Linked DNA regions of Homo sapiens: region 2 is linked to region 1. Evidence: promoter capture Hi-C in 16 types of primary human blood cells and fetal thymus (Javierre and others, 2016). All regions are on one chromosome and are shown on one strand. Each heading gives the region's core, a stretch centred on a gene start or on the middle of the fragment in contact. The rest is flanking DNA. Distances are from core to core; before and after follow the strand shown.

The links. Contacts are between HindIII fragments. The CHiCAGO score rates a contact against its expected background, and 5 or more counts as called.
Region 2: a fragment that was not itself captured here is called in contact with the fragment with the promoter of FAM200B in region 1 in 1 of 17 cell types (M1 macrophages); the score reaches 6.3 in M1 macrophages.

What each region holds. Positions count from the first base shown.
Region 1 is chr4:15,677,033-15,683,588 of GRCh38, reverse strand. It overlaps FAM200B (family with sequence similarity 200 member B), which reads right to left and starts at 1,762. Exons shown (of 2, transcript NM_001145191.2): 1 at 1,688-1,762. It also overlaps a transcript of FBXL5 not described here. RefSeq lists enhancers at 1,493-1,542, 1,553-1,792, 1,963-2,262. The HindIII fragment of the contact is 4,207 bases long and covers 648-4,854 here.
Region 2 is chr4:15,481,265-15,487,842 of GRCh38, reverse strand. All of the region lies in intron 4 of CC2D2A (coiled-coil and C2 domain containing 2A), which reads right to left. Among named protein-coding and RNA genes, the nearest start is that of CC2D2A, 15 kb to the right of the region's middle. The HindIII fragment of the contact is 2,241 bases long and covers 3,985-6,225 here.

The DNA.
Region 1 (6,556 bases), core at 513-3,012:
TTAAAAAAGTATCTTATTTTTATATTACTATATATGGATCATTTATCTCTTAGAAGCAATTGTCTTTTAACTATTCCATTCTTTCATATTCTTACTATTCACGTTTCAATCCCCCCTTGAAAGTTTGTAACACTAGTTCAGTTACTATTGTATTAAAAAGATATTTTTAAAGGGTTTACTCTCCCTCCTAAATCAGACAGTTCATCTATAGTAACAGCAGTGGCAGTATATTAGGGAACAGGTCTGGTAGATGTGGTGATGAAAGCATGGGGAAGTTTTTTTTTAACTCAATAGGATGTGAGGTATCATCTAAGTAAGAGGCCGAAGTAGAAAATGTTGCAAGTTTGTCAGAAGAAAATATGAAATATTAATAATTGTTAAGGAATGTGATAATATGATGGACTAGGAAAATGTTTTTGGATTTTTAGTCTGGCTGGTTGTCTTACTTGCTTAATGCAATGATTGTTATTGTTACAATGCTTGATAGTCTAAAATTCCCCGTCACTAATCTTTTATATCCTAAGATATATCTCTAGTGCGCTGTATCATCTTCTGAAAATACAGCTCTAATCAGCTTCCTCATAACTGGAAAAGCATTTAATGGCGCCGAGCTTGTGTAAGCTCTTCAGGATAATATCCTTTAAGCTTAAGCCTCATCTTTCCAGGTTTCTCCTTCATCACATGATCTCCATACATTCTACATTTCAGTACTAAAAGTATGGAAATTCTTGAAATAGTTCATGCACTTTCATGTCTCTGCTTTTGGCTAGTATTCCTTTTGCCTGGAATACTCTTGTTGGGTCACATGAAGTCCTATTTATTCTTTTCTACTTAGTTCAAATGCTACAGCAGCCATGCATTCAACTAACATTTAGCTACCTACAGTGCCTAAAGTATGTCAGGCACTGGAGATACTAAACAATGAACAGTGACATATTAAAATAACAGAATATCTGTTCAGCTATTAAGATGAATAAGGTGGAGTTACACAACACTGACAAATCTCAAAAACATTATGTAAAACAAGCTAGCTGCAAAAAGATGTACACATTACAGATTGCATAAAGGTGGTTAGGAGAGTGGTTTCCTTAGGCAAAAGGAAAGAGAATGAGACGGGGTAGAGCTGACAAAGGACTTCAATCACTTATATAATCATTTATTTCTCCAATTCAGTGGTGAGTACACATGTGTTATAGTTTTGTTTCTACCTTTTTTCTGTCTAAAATCGTCTATTTAAAAAAAGCATCTTTAAGGCTGGATACCTTCCTGAAGGCACTGGAAATCTGTCATACTGCCACTAACTTAAAATTACCTTCCACCTCTTGCATTTCCCTTTGTTTCCTGTTTTGACATTGCGCACACATTAGTTAGTACACTAGGCCTTAAGAGTGGAAACTGCCAGGTACCAGCTTTAGCTAGATTAAAACATGACCCTCTTCCCAGGAGACTCCTGACCGGTTTTCTCGTCCTCCAGGGACCCAGCTAGGATTTCAATGAACTTTGGCCTGAACCCCTCGGCCGACCCTAGAATAATCGCCCTTCAGGCCCGGATTGCTTCTGCTCTCACCTTCCCTCAATTCATACGGGGGGCAAAACCAGACTGTATTTCCCGCAACGAACCCTGGAATGCTTCGCTTTAGCGGACTCCGGTCCACTCCCATCAGAGGATGCCCTTCTTTCGCCTCACCTCCAGCCCAGCCGCAGCGACCCGGCCGGGCCCAGCGCTGCAAGCCTCAGGTCTCTCCAGCAGAGCTGCGCCTCTGCTCTCCCCACACTTCCCTCCGCAACACCACTTCCGGCCTACCTCACAAATTCCCCATTCCAGCCGAAAAGAACTGGATCGGCCCTCTGCGCATGCGTGAGACCGGGGCGGTGTCCGGGGGTGCCGGGAGCGGGCGGTGCAGGCTCCACTTTTCCACTTCCCTACGCTCTGTCGGCAGTCTCGCGGGATTTCCGCCTCTCGCGGGAGTTATTTGAATGCCAGGGCGGTAACGACTCCCTAGGCGCCTGGGGCCCTCTGACAAGAAACCCTAGGAGACACCGCGGAGAACTCTGCCTCTGAGCTGGTGGGCGGGCCGGATGTAGCCGAGCGCGGACAGGGCTAGTCCGGACAGAGTCCCAGAGCCATGGGAGCGAAAAGAGACTGCTGCGGATTAAGGAGGCCTTTCGGTTGGCGCAGCAGCCACACCACAACCAGGCGAAGCAGGTAGTGGCGCTGAATCGCTCCTGCCGCGGGGTAAGCGCTCCCGGCCCGCGCCCGCCCCAGCCCCGACCTGGCGGGGCCAGGACGCTGGTTCATACACTCCAAGGTGATTTTCATAGTCTTTGTGGAAGAATTAGAGAATTTTGAACTTTGATATCATTGCACGTGTTTACTTATTTAGAGAATCGCATTGTGTTTAATAATCATAGTATTCCTGTGCGACTCTTTAGGTTAGCAGATCATTGATTTTTAACATAAAACTGCATTTCATTAAATAGATTTAAATATGTATGTATATTTCTGTCCTCTAATGATTGTAACAAAGCAGATTTCTTGATCATTAACAAGATAGGTTCGTGCAAATAAGTGCATCTTTGTCACAAACCAAATTTTTTTGTGGTTGAGATATATATTTATATATATATGTGAAACAAAAAACATATAAAGGAGAATATATATATATTCTTATATATATAATATATACTGCTTTATTTTTTTGGGTTGACATATATATGTCATATATAGTTTTTTTTTAAATTCTACCTTAAACAGGGAAACATGTTAGATACAGGAGCTTGAATTTCAACTCTGAAACTTAATGCGACTTTATCAGCATTTCTCTTTCTCAAGCTACTTACTTCTTGTAGGATTACACAGTCAAATTTTTAAAAATTTTTGATTCTCCAACTGGATTTTTTTTTTTAATTTTTGAGACGGAGTCTCACTCTCTCGCCCAGGCTGGAGTGCAGTGGCGCAGCCTCGGCTCACTGCAACCTCAGCCTCCTGGTTCAAGCGATTCCCCTGCCACAACCTCCCGAGTAGCTGGGATTACAGGCGACCGCCACCATGCCAGGCTAATTTTTGTATTTTTCAAAAATACAAAGACGGGGTTTCACCATTTTGGCCAGGCTGGTCTCGAACTCCTGACCTCAGGTGATCCACCCACTTGGGCCTCCCAAAGTGCTGGGATTACAGGGGTGAGCCACTGCACCCAGCCTCTCCCACTGGATTTTTAAAGCTGTTTTTTGATTAGCAAATATTTCTTTTACATGGCTCAAACTACATGAAAAGAAATGCAGCAAGAAACACTTCCTCCCTAGTCCCTATCCAGTACCATTCCTAATAGTCTTCACGGGTAATCATTTTAAATTAGTTTCTTGTTTATCCTTCCGGTCTTCATGCAGAGATACAAGCAGATGAGAATATACAGTCTTATTTCACTCGGTCTCTCCTTCAATATTTTCTGCATTGTTCATGTTTTTTTTTTTCCTGTTTTACTGTATATTCTGGATATTCCTCCTTATCAGTATTCAATTAAACTTATTTTTTCCTGTCACATACTCCATTTTGTAGATATACTCCAGTTTATACAGTAAATCACGCGTAGGTGGACACTTGGCGTTGTTTCCAGTCTTCAGATATTAGAAACAACTCTTCAGTGAATACATGTCATTTCTACATTTGCAGGGGTAACTGTCAGATTCTGAAAAGAATTGCTGGATCCAAGAGGAAATGTGTTTGCAAATATGATAGATATTTACAGTTGCCCTTCATAGAGTGATCCATTTTACACTCCTATCAGCAGAGAAGAGAATGAGACATACTGCTTTTTTTTTTTTAGGGGGATTGGAAAGAACAGGAATATAATTGGGATTTTTTGATAGATAAGTAAAATCCTGAAAAGTTTGGGAATATGAGTTAGAATGATAAAACATATAACAAAAATAACTTGTTGTGTGATAAGAAGGCTTAATTTTAAAAAGCAGTATTGAATTGGGACCATTGGGTGTTGGTTTTTTGTTTTTTTGTTTTTTTTTTTTTTTGTTCCTGAACTGTACCTTTAGCATATTTCTCTAGATAGATTCAAGGATATTTAGAAAAATCAAAATCTCTTGTGATCAAAATCTGTGCTTCCTTGCTCCATGACAGAAGCAATTCAAAAACAAGAGACTTGGGTAAATATTACTCAGGTTTATTTTCCTCAGTTTTTTCTACTGGATGGATAATTAATAATTGTTAAAGAGTAGATATTTTAGCCCGACATGGTGGCTCACACCTGTAATCCCAGCACTTTGAGAGGCCGAAGCGGGTGGATCATGAGATCAGGAGATCCTGACCAACATGGTGAAACCCTGTCTCTACTAAAAATACAAAAATTAGCTGGGTGTGGTGGCACGTGCCTATAATCCCAGCTACTCAGGAGGCTGAGGCAGGAGAATCGCTTGAACCCAGGAGGCGGAGGTTGCAGTGAGCCGAGATCACGCCGCTGCACTCCAGCCTGGTGAGAGTGAGACTCCGTCTCAAAAAAAAAAAAAAAAAAAATAGAGATTTTAGTTTGGTGAAAAATTGTTGAGATTTTTGAGAATTATGATAGTGCTAGGGACAGAGACTATTATCAATGTAGTTTGTGAAGGGTTTGTTTTTTATTTCTGCTGACCAGTAAAAGTTTTTTAAGAGGCATTTGTTCATTATATCAATTAAGCTATGATGATCTGCAAATATGAACCAACAGTAGAGTGAGAAACAGAATTTGCAGCAGTTTATTACATCATTTCACCAAACAGAAGGAAGATAATGAGAAAAATGAAGACAGTGACATTTCAAACAAAATGACCTTATAAATATTTTTCTGTAGGCTAAAATAATAAGCTTATAATTAAAAGCTGATTTGTTAAGTAATAATAGCTTACATTTAAAATTATAAGAAACCAATTTTAGGTAAATATACTTAAATTAATGCTCTACCTAGGAAGGAATGCAGAAGATCATTTTGGTCAAAAAGTTGTTGCATTCTTGTTATTTAGCAAATATTTCAGACAAGGACTATTTTGAGACTATGTAAATGTATATTTAGTATACCTATGCATGAAAGTAGCATTGTAGCTTTTCTTCGTTTGCATGAATTGTAACCCCTTTGAGTTATTAAAGCCTTCACTTGGGGAAAATCAAGTGGTCGTTACAATGCCACTTGGGAATAAGTTTTCATTTGTTTTTGTTTCAATACTGAGGTAAACAGCAATGAAGTTTTTGATGTGCCAAATTCTGAGTAAGTTATTGGGAAATAAGCCAGAAAATGCCTAGATTAATAATGTTTTGTGTAAAAAATTAATGAAGCCATTCTTGTTAGATTGAAAGATAAAATTGCAAATGAGAAAATCCAGGCAATCCTGCCTGTTTTGAGACTTAACACCTATGAATAATGACTTGTCCCATAAGTTAAAAGTATGTGCAACTTCATAGTTTTTTGTTTGATTTTTAAATTCACAGTAGTTGAATTATTCCTATTAAATATATAATTTATGAGAAAAGAAAGTATGTATGAAACACACCCACCCGCCCATTTAATGATACATCATTCCAATAGCAATTCCCTGACACCAGCTGAATGTCCTACAATGCAATTCAATTTCGTTACTAATTGCCTGAAGTTAGCACAGTTGCCACACAGGTTAAGCGCTCAGTCCCACAGGACTGCCTCCATTTCAGATGCCAGCCACAAGTCTCAGGTATTCCCAACCTACTTGGACTTCTTCCAGGCTGACTCCATATTTGGGCATTCCCATGACCTACTCCCCAAGTTTGATAATTTGCTAGAATGACTCACAGAACTTAGGAAAGCACTATATTTACTACTACAATTTTTGTGTAAAGGATACAACTTGGGAACAGCCAAATGGAAGAGACACATAGGGGAAGGTATGGAGGACAGAGGGTGCAAAACTTTCATGCCCTCTCTGTGCCACCCTCCCAGCACATTAATGTGTTTGGAAGCCCCTTGAGCTTCCAATGATCAGACATGACTCATTAATCATTAATCACTAGTCACTTATTTGAACTCAGTCTCCAGTTCTTCTCCCCTTGTCAGAGATAGTGAGATGGGCTAAAAGTTTTAATCCTGTAAACACCTAGTTGGTTTTTCTGGTAACCAGCCTCCATCCTGAAGGTACCTAGGGTCCCTCTCTATCTCCCAACCCCTATGAGTCACCTCATTAACATAAACTCAGGCATAATTGAAAGGGATATATTATGAAGTATAAAAGACACCTCCTATTAGGAAATTCCAAGGGTTTTAGGAGCTTTCTTCCAGGAACCAAGGACAAAGAATAAATATATTTTTTATTATACCACAGAAGAGTAATAAGACGAACATATATACCCAGCATCCAAATTAAGAAACATAACATAAAGGTATCTTTTAAGCCTCTTGTGTTCCTTTGTGAATATATTTCCTCTGCTTCCCAGAGGAAACCATTATCTTGAATTTTGTGTTATCTGTTACCTTGCTTGTCTTCAGAGTTTATTATAGTTTTAACGCTATCTAGCGGTATATCCGAAATAAACCTCTTTTTGACC
Region 2 (6,578 bases), core at 3,856-6,355, 200 kb after region 1:
CTTCATGGTAATCACAGAGCAAAAACCTATGACAGGTACAAAAAAAAAAATTTTTTTAACATACTACTGGAGAAAATCACTTATACACTAAGAAAGACAGGAAGAAGGCAGAAAGGAAGAGAGGACTAACAAAACAACCAGAAAACAAATAAGAAAATGGCAGTAGTAAGTCCCTCCCTGTGAATAATGACGTTGAATATAAATGGACTAAATTCTCCCATCAAAAGACATAGATTGGCTGAACGGATGAAAAAGATTGAAAAAAAGAGCCAATTATATGCTACCTATAAGAAACTCATTTCACCTGTAAAGATGCACATAGACTGAAAATAAAGGGGTAGAAAAAGTTATTCTATGCAATGGAAATGTAAAAAGAGCAGGAGTAGCTGTATATGTATCAGATAAAATAGATTTCAAGACAAAAATTGTAAAAAGAGACAAAGAAGGTCATTATACAATGATAAAGGGGTCAATTCATCAAGAGGATATAATACTTGTAAATACATAGGCACCCAATACTGGGACACCCAGATATATAAAGCAAATATTATTAGAGCTAAATCCCAATACAAGTCTCCCATTAATAATAGTTGAGGATCTTAATACTCCCGTTCAGCATTGGATAGATCATTTAGAGAGAAAATCAACAAACTAATATTGGACTTAATCTGCAAATAAAACAAATGAAACTAACAGATTTAAAGAACATTTCATCCAACAGCTGCAGAATACACATTTTTCTCTTCAGCACATGGAACATGCTCAAGGATAGACTATATCTCAGGCCACAAAACAAGTCTCAAAAAATTCAAAAAAGTTGAAATCATATCAGGTATCTTCTCTAACCACAATAAAATAAAACTAGAAATCAATAACAAGAGAAACTCTGAAAACTCTACAAATTCATAAAAATTAAACAATACACTCCAGAACAACAATTGGGTCAATGATGAATTAAAAAAATAAAAAATTGACTGGAACAAATGAAAATGGAAACACAACATATGAAAACCTATAGGGTATAGCAAAAGCATTACCGGAAGGGAATTTTATAGCAATAAATACCTACGTCAAAAATGTAGAAAGATTTTAAATAACCTCACAATGCATCTTAAAGAAACAGAAAATCAAAAGCACATCAAAACTCGAAATTAGTAGAAGAAAAATAATAAAGATCAGAGCAGAAATAAATGAAAGTGATACTTAATAAAAAGTAGAAAAGATCAATGAAATGAAAAGTTGTTTTTTGAAAAGATAAACAAAATTGACAAAACTTTAGCCAGATTAAGAAAAAGAGAAGACCCACAGAAATAAAATCAGAGACAAAAATGGAGACATAACAACTGATACCACAGAAAATCAAAGGATTATTAGAGACTATTATGAGCAACTATATGCCAATACATTTCTTCTAGAAAGCTAGAAGAAATGGATAAATTTCTAGACATATACAACCTACCAAGATTGAAACATGAAGAAATATAAAATCTGAATAGACAAAAAACAAGTAATGAGATAGAAGCAGTAATAAAAAGTGTTTCTCTTCAAAGAAAAGCCCAGGACCTGATGGCTACCCTGCTGAATTCAACAAAACATTTAAAGAACTATTATTAATCCTACTCAAACTATTCCAAAAATCAGAGGAGGGAATACTTCCAAACCTATGGTACAAGGGCAGTATTATCCTGATACCAAAACCAGACAAAGACATAACAACAAAAAACTTTACAAGCCAGTATCTCTGATGCACACTGATGCAAAAATCATCAACAAAATACTAGCCAACTGTATTCAATAATAAATTAACAACATCATTCTTCATGATCAAGTGGGATTCATCTCAGGGATGCAAGGATAGTTCAATATATAAAATCAATAAAGTAATACATCATATCAACAGAATGAAGGAAAAAGGACATGATCAGTTCAGTAGATGTGAAAAAATATTTGCAAATTACTCCTCTGAAAGGGGACTGATATCCAGAATATACTAGGAACTCAAATATCTCAACAGATAAAACATAAATAATCTCATTAAAAATAGGCAAAAAACATTGATAGACATTTCTCAAAAGAAGACATACAAATGGCCAACAGGTATACGCAAAAATGCTCAAATTCACTAATCATGAGGGATATGCAAATTAAACCACAATGAGATATCTTACTCCAGTTAAAATGGCTTTCATCAAAAAGACAAAACAGATGCTGGCAAGAATGCAGAGAAAAGGGAATGCTTGTATACTGTTAGTGAGAATGTAAATTTGTACAGCTGTTATGGAAAACAATATGAAGTTTCTCAAAAAACTAAAAATAGAACTACCCTATGATCCAGAAATGCCACTGCTGGGTATATATCCAAAAGAAAGGAAAGCAGTATATCAAAGAGATATCTGAACTCCTATTTTTACTGCAGCACTATTCACAACAGCTAAGATACGGAATTAACCTAAGTATCCATCAATGGATAAATGGATAAAGAAAGCATGCTGCATATACACAATGGAATATTATTCAGCCATAAAAAAGAATGAAATTTTGCAGTTTGCAACAACATGGATGGAACTGGAGGACATTATGTTAGTGAAGAAAGCCAGGCACAGAAAGACAACTAGTACATGTTTTCACTCATATGTGGGAGCTAAAACAATTGATCTGATAGAGATAGTGAGTAGAATGATGGTTACCAGAGGCAGGACCCTGTCTTGAGCATTTGTTGTTATGCCCATGGCAGTTTTTCAATATATGTTTATCAAGCTCCAAATATTGCATTGGGGAATAAGCAATGAATACAGCAGACAAAGTCTTGATCTCAGGGAGCTTTCCTTCTAATGATCAAGATAGTCAGCTGATTGGAAAATGCCGGGAGGTGATGAGTGCTCTGAAGGAAAGTAGAACCAGCTGAGAGGAAAGAGGGCAGAGGTGGGAAAGGGACATTCTAGATAAAAGATCAAGGAATCCCTGTCCACTCTCCACCTCTCCCCAACCACCAGATCCCTGTATCCATACATCCATGTCCACTTGGATATTCAGCAGGCATCTCAACTTTGCATGTCCATTCAATTTCTACCTTCAAACCTGCCCTTTCTGCCATCTTTTCCTTCTCTGAAACTCTATTGGGGAAAGTGGAGTTACCCATTTTTGACTCAAGTCAAAAACCATGGAGGCAACCTTCCTGCTTTCATAATTCTTGTTCAATCGAGAAATATACCTGTTCGTCTCTACCTTCCAAATACCCAGATTTCCCACACTCTTTCCACCCCTTCCACTACCCGCCAGTCCCATTCCCCAATAACTCCCACCTGGATTTTTGCTGTTGGCCTCTACCTGGTCTCTGTGCTTCTGCCCTCACTCCTTCCAAAGTCTACTCAGCACAGCAGCCGTCAGCCTTAAATCTGATTATATCAGTCCTGGGCTTGAACCCTCCAATGACGCTCATCTCATTCGGATTAAAAGTCAAAGGGCCCACTAGGCTGGGTACAATTCCCCTCCTCCCTTCTGATTTTATTTTTTTCCTTTTCCTTGTTGTTCACTCTCCACTGCCCTTGCCCCCTGGCTGTTGCTTAATGTCGCAAGCACATTCCTGCCTTAAGACCACTGCCTGGAACATTCTCCCCTTGGGGATCACTCATTTCCTTTCATAAATGCACCTCATCCTCTCACTCCCACTGCAGTCCTGCCAGCTTATTCTTTATCTTTCTCTTCAGGACTTCTCACACCTGCTGTACTCTATGTTTATCTAGTTTACTTCATTTGTTTTTCTCTTTTTTCCTCTCATCCCTCCCACAACTGGAGTATAAACTCTGTGGCAGTGTTCACGCAATCTATTATTGTCCCTGTTTTACAAATAAGGAAACTAAAGTTTAGGTAGGTCGGAGAACTTGCCCAAGGGAGTAAGATAGGTAGAGACTGGTACCCACTCTTGTCTAAGCCAACGCCCATGGTCTTAACTGCAACAGCTCAATTGTGTTTCAATCACAAGCTTAATAAAGACACAATCAGAGAACTCTCTTAAAGTGGGAACCAAAGCCCAGAAATGCTGAGATGGTCACGAGGCATTCAGAGGCCAGTAAGGAGTCAACCAAAGTGGAGCACACTGGAAAACACTGGAAAATACAACCGGAAGGAGCCCAATTGCATAGATCCTTAGAGCCCGGAATAAATAAGAGAGTGTGGATTTTATGTAATGTAATATAATAGATTTCTGAGTAGAAAAGTGAGATAAAGAGGAGTTTTAAAGAAAAATTAATGTGGTAGTAAAAATGTCCATACATTCTTTGACACTCCTTCTTTCAAAAGAAGGAGGCTGATTTTCCTTCCCTTAAATGTGGGCTGGATTTAGGGACATGCTTCTAACAAATATGTCGAAAGGACTGATAGGTGATTTCTATGACTGGGTCATAAAGCACATGGCTGCTTCTATCTTGCTCTTGACCCTCTCCGTGTTTTCTACACATACATCTGTGTGTTTCCAAGACCTGAATTGGGAATCCTCCTCACCCTACAGTTCCCCATGCAGACTCCTCCATATGTGGAGGCTCCATTCTTCTGTCACCTCCCTTGCTATCCTTGCCTGCCTAGGGCAGTCCAGCACTCTGTTGTTTCTGCCAGCACTCATCATTCCTTTTTACTTGTCTGTCTCCTGCTCTAATGCCACTGGTATAATAATACTTCCTCTGCTCTCTTGACTTTGTCTGCTGGCTTTGACTTCTCATTTCTGACAGATGCCTGGCTCCACAGACTCCTTATCCACCATATGCTCCACCCCTCACTGCTGGGGATGTTTTCTCTTCGTCTTGGTTTATCAGTGCTGCCAATTCATCAGCAGCTTCCAGCTCCACCCAGGGCTTCCCAGACACTGGATGGTCATGGTGTGGCTCCAGTAGGCAGGTCTCAGCCTTCTGTTCATTCCATACCTCTCCATTCCCCAATTCAGAAATAGCGCTTTTTGTGGGGGAAGGGACTAATGCATAGATCATCTCCATGGTGACAGTGGACAGTATCTTCTTCATTTTCGAGTTAGAAAATAATCCACTTTTTATGTCACAGAGCCTTGACTGGTGGCCACCTCTCCTGGCAGTCTTTCCCTTGATTTTAAAATAAATAATTAAATATCCAGTAGTTGTGCTAAGGACTGAATTGTGTCCCCCCTCTGAAAATCTGTATGTTGAAGCCTTCTCCCCCAATCTGACTGCATTTAGAGATAGAACCTGTAGGAGGTAATTAAGGTCAAATGCGATCATAAGGGAGGGGCCCTGATAGGATTAGGATTAGTGTCCTTATAAGAGGAGACAGTAGAGCCTCTCCCTCCCCCAGTGCAGGCACAGAGAAGAGGTCATGTGAGCACACAGCAAGATGGTGGCCACCAACTAGCCAGGAAGAAGGGCCTCACTGGAAACCGGCCATGCTGGCACCATGATCTCAGATGTCCAGCCTTCAGAGCCATGAGAAAATAAATGTTGGGTGTTTAAGCCCCCCAGTCTATAGTATTTTGTTATGGCAGCCTGAAATGACAAGTTGTAATCTTTGGTAGTAATAAATAATTTTGAGCATTTAGAAAAAGAAACAGCCATATGAGATAAATTTTGGTTCTGTTTTTATTAATTCATAACAGCTCTCATTGTATCATTGCTTTTAGATTAGAACCACATTTTTCCAATCTAAGAGTCTACTTGCTTCCAAAGGCCTCTAGTTTCCAACAGTTACTTATTTCCCAACTTTGCCATAGGGAAAACAGTCTAACAATTATGTAACAATTAAAAAGTGTAACCACTTCTCCTCTTGTCTAATCCACTTTTCATGAAAAGCAATGCCTGAAGGGTGGTCATTTTCCCTACAATGAGCAGGTAATTCCTAATGTTCATTGTACTGGGGAAGAAGAAAAGGCGTGTGTAGGGGGAGAAGTATATGTGTCCTCAATGGCAAGGTCACCAGGAGCCTCAGAAACCTCCCTCATTTCTTCCAAACATCTGATTCAAGCCTCACTAGGTTAACACATATGTCTTCCCTAACAATTTCATCTTCCTTTGAGTTTCTGCATATTTAATTTCCATTCTAATTAACACTCCCTAACTTATGTATTGTTAGTCCATTTTGCATTGCTATAAAGGAATATCTGAGACTGGGTAATTTATAAAGAAAAGAGGTTTATTTTGGCTCACTGTTCTGCAGACTGTGCAATAAGCATGGTGCCAGCATCTGCCTCTGGTGAGGCCTTAGGAAGCTTTCACTTATGTCAGAAGGGGAAGGGGAAACAGGTGTGTCGCATGGTGAGAGAGGGAGCAAGAGAGAGGGGAGGAGGTTCCAGGCTCTTTTTTGTTTGTTTGTTTTCTGAGATGGAGTCTTGCTCTGTTGCCTAGGCTGGAGTGCAGTGCTCCGATCTCGGCTCACTGCAACCTCCACCTCCCAGGTTCAAGCAATTCTCATGCCTCAGCCTCCCAAGTAGCTGGGATTACAGGCATGCGCCACCACGCCTGGCTAATTTTTTTGTATTTTTAGTAGAGATGGGGTTTCTCCATGTTGGTCAGGCTGGTCTTGAACTCCCAACCTCAGGTGATTTACCCGCCTCGGCCTTCCAA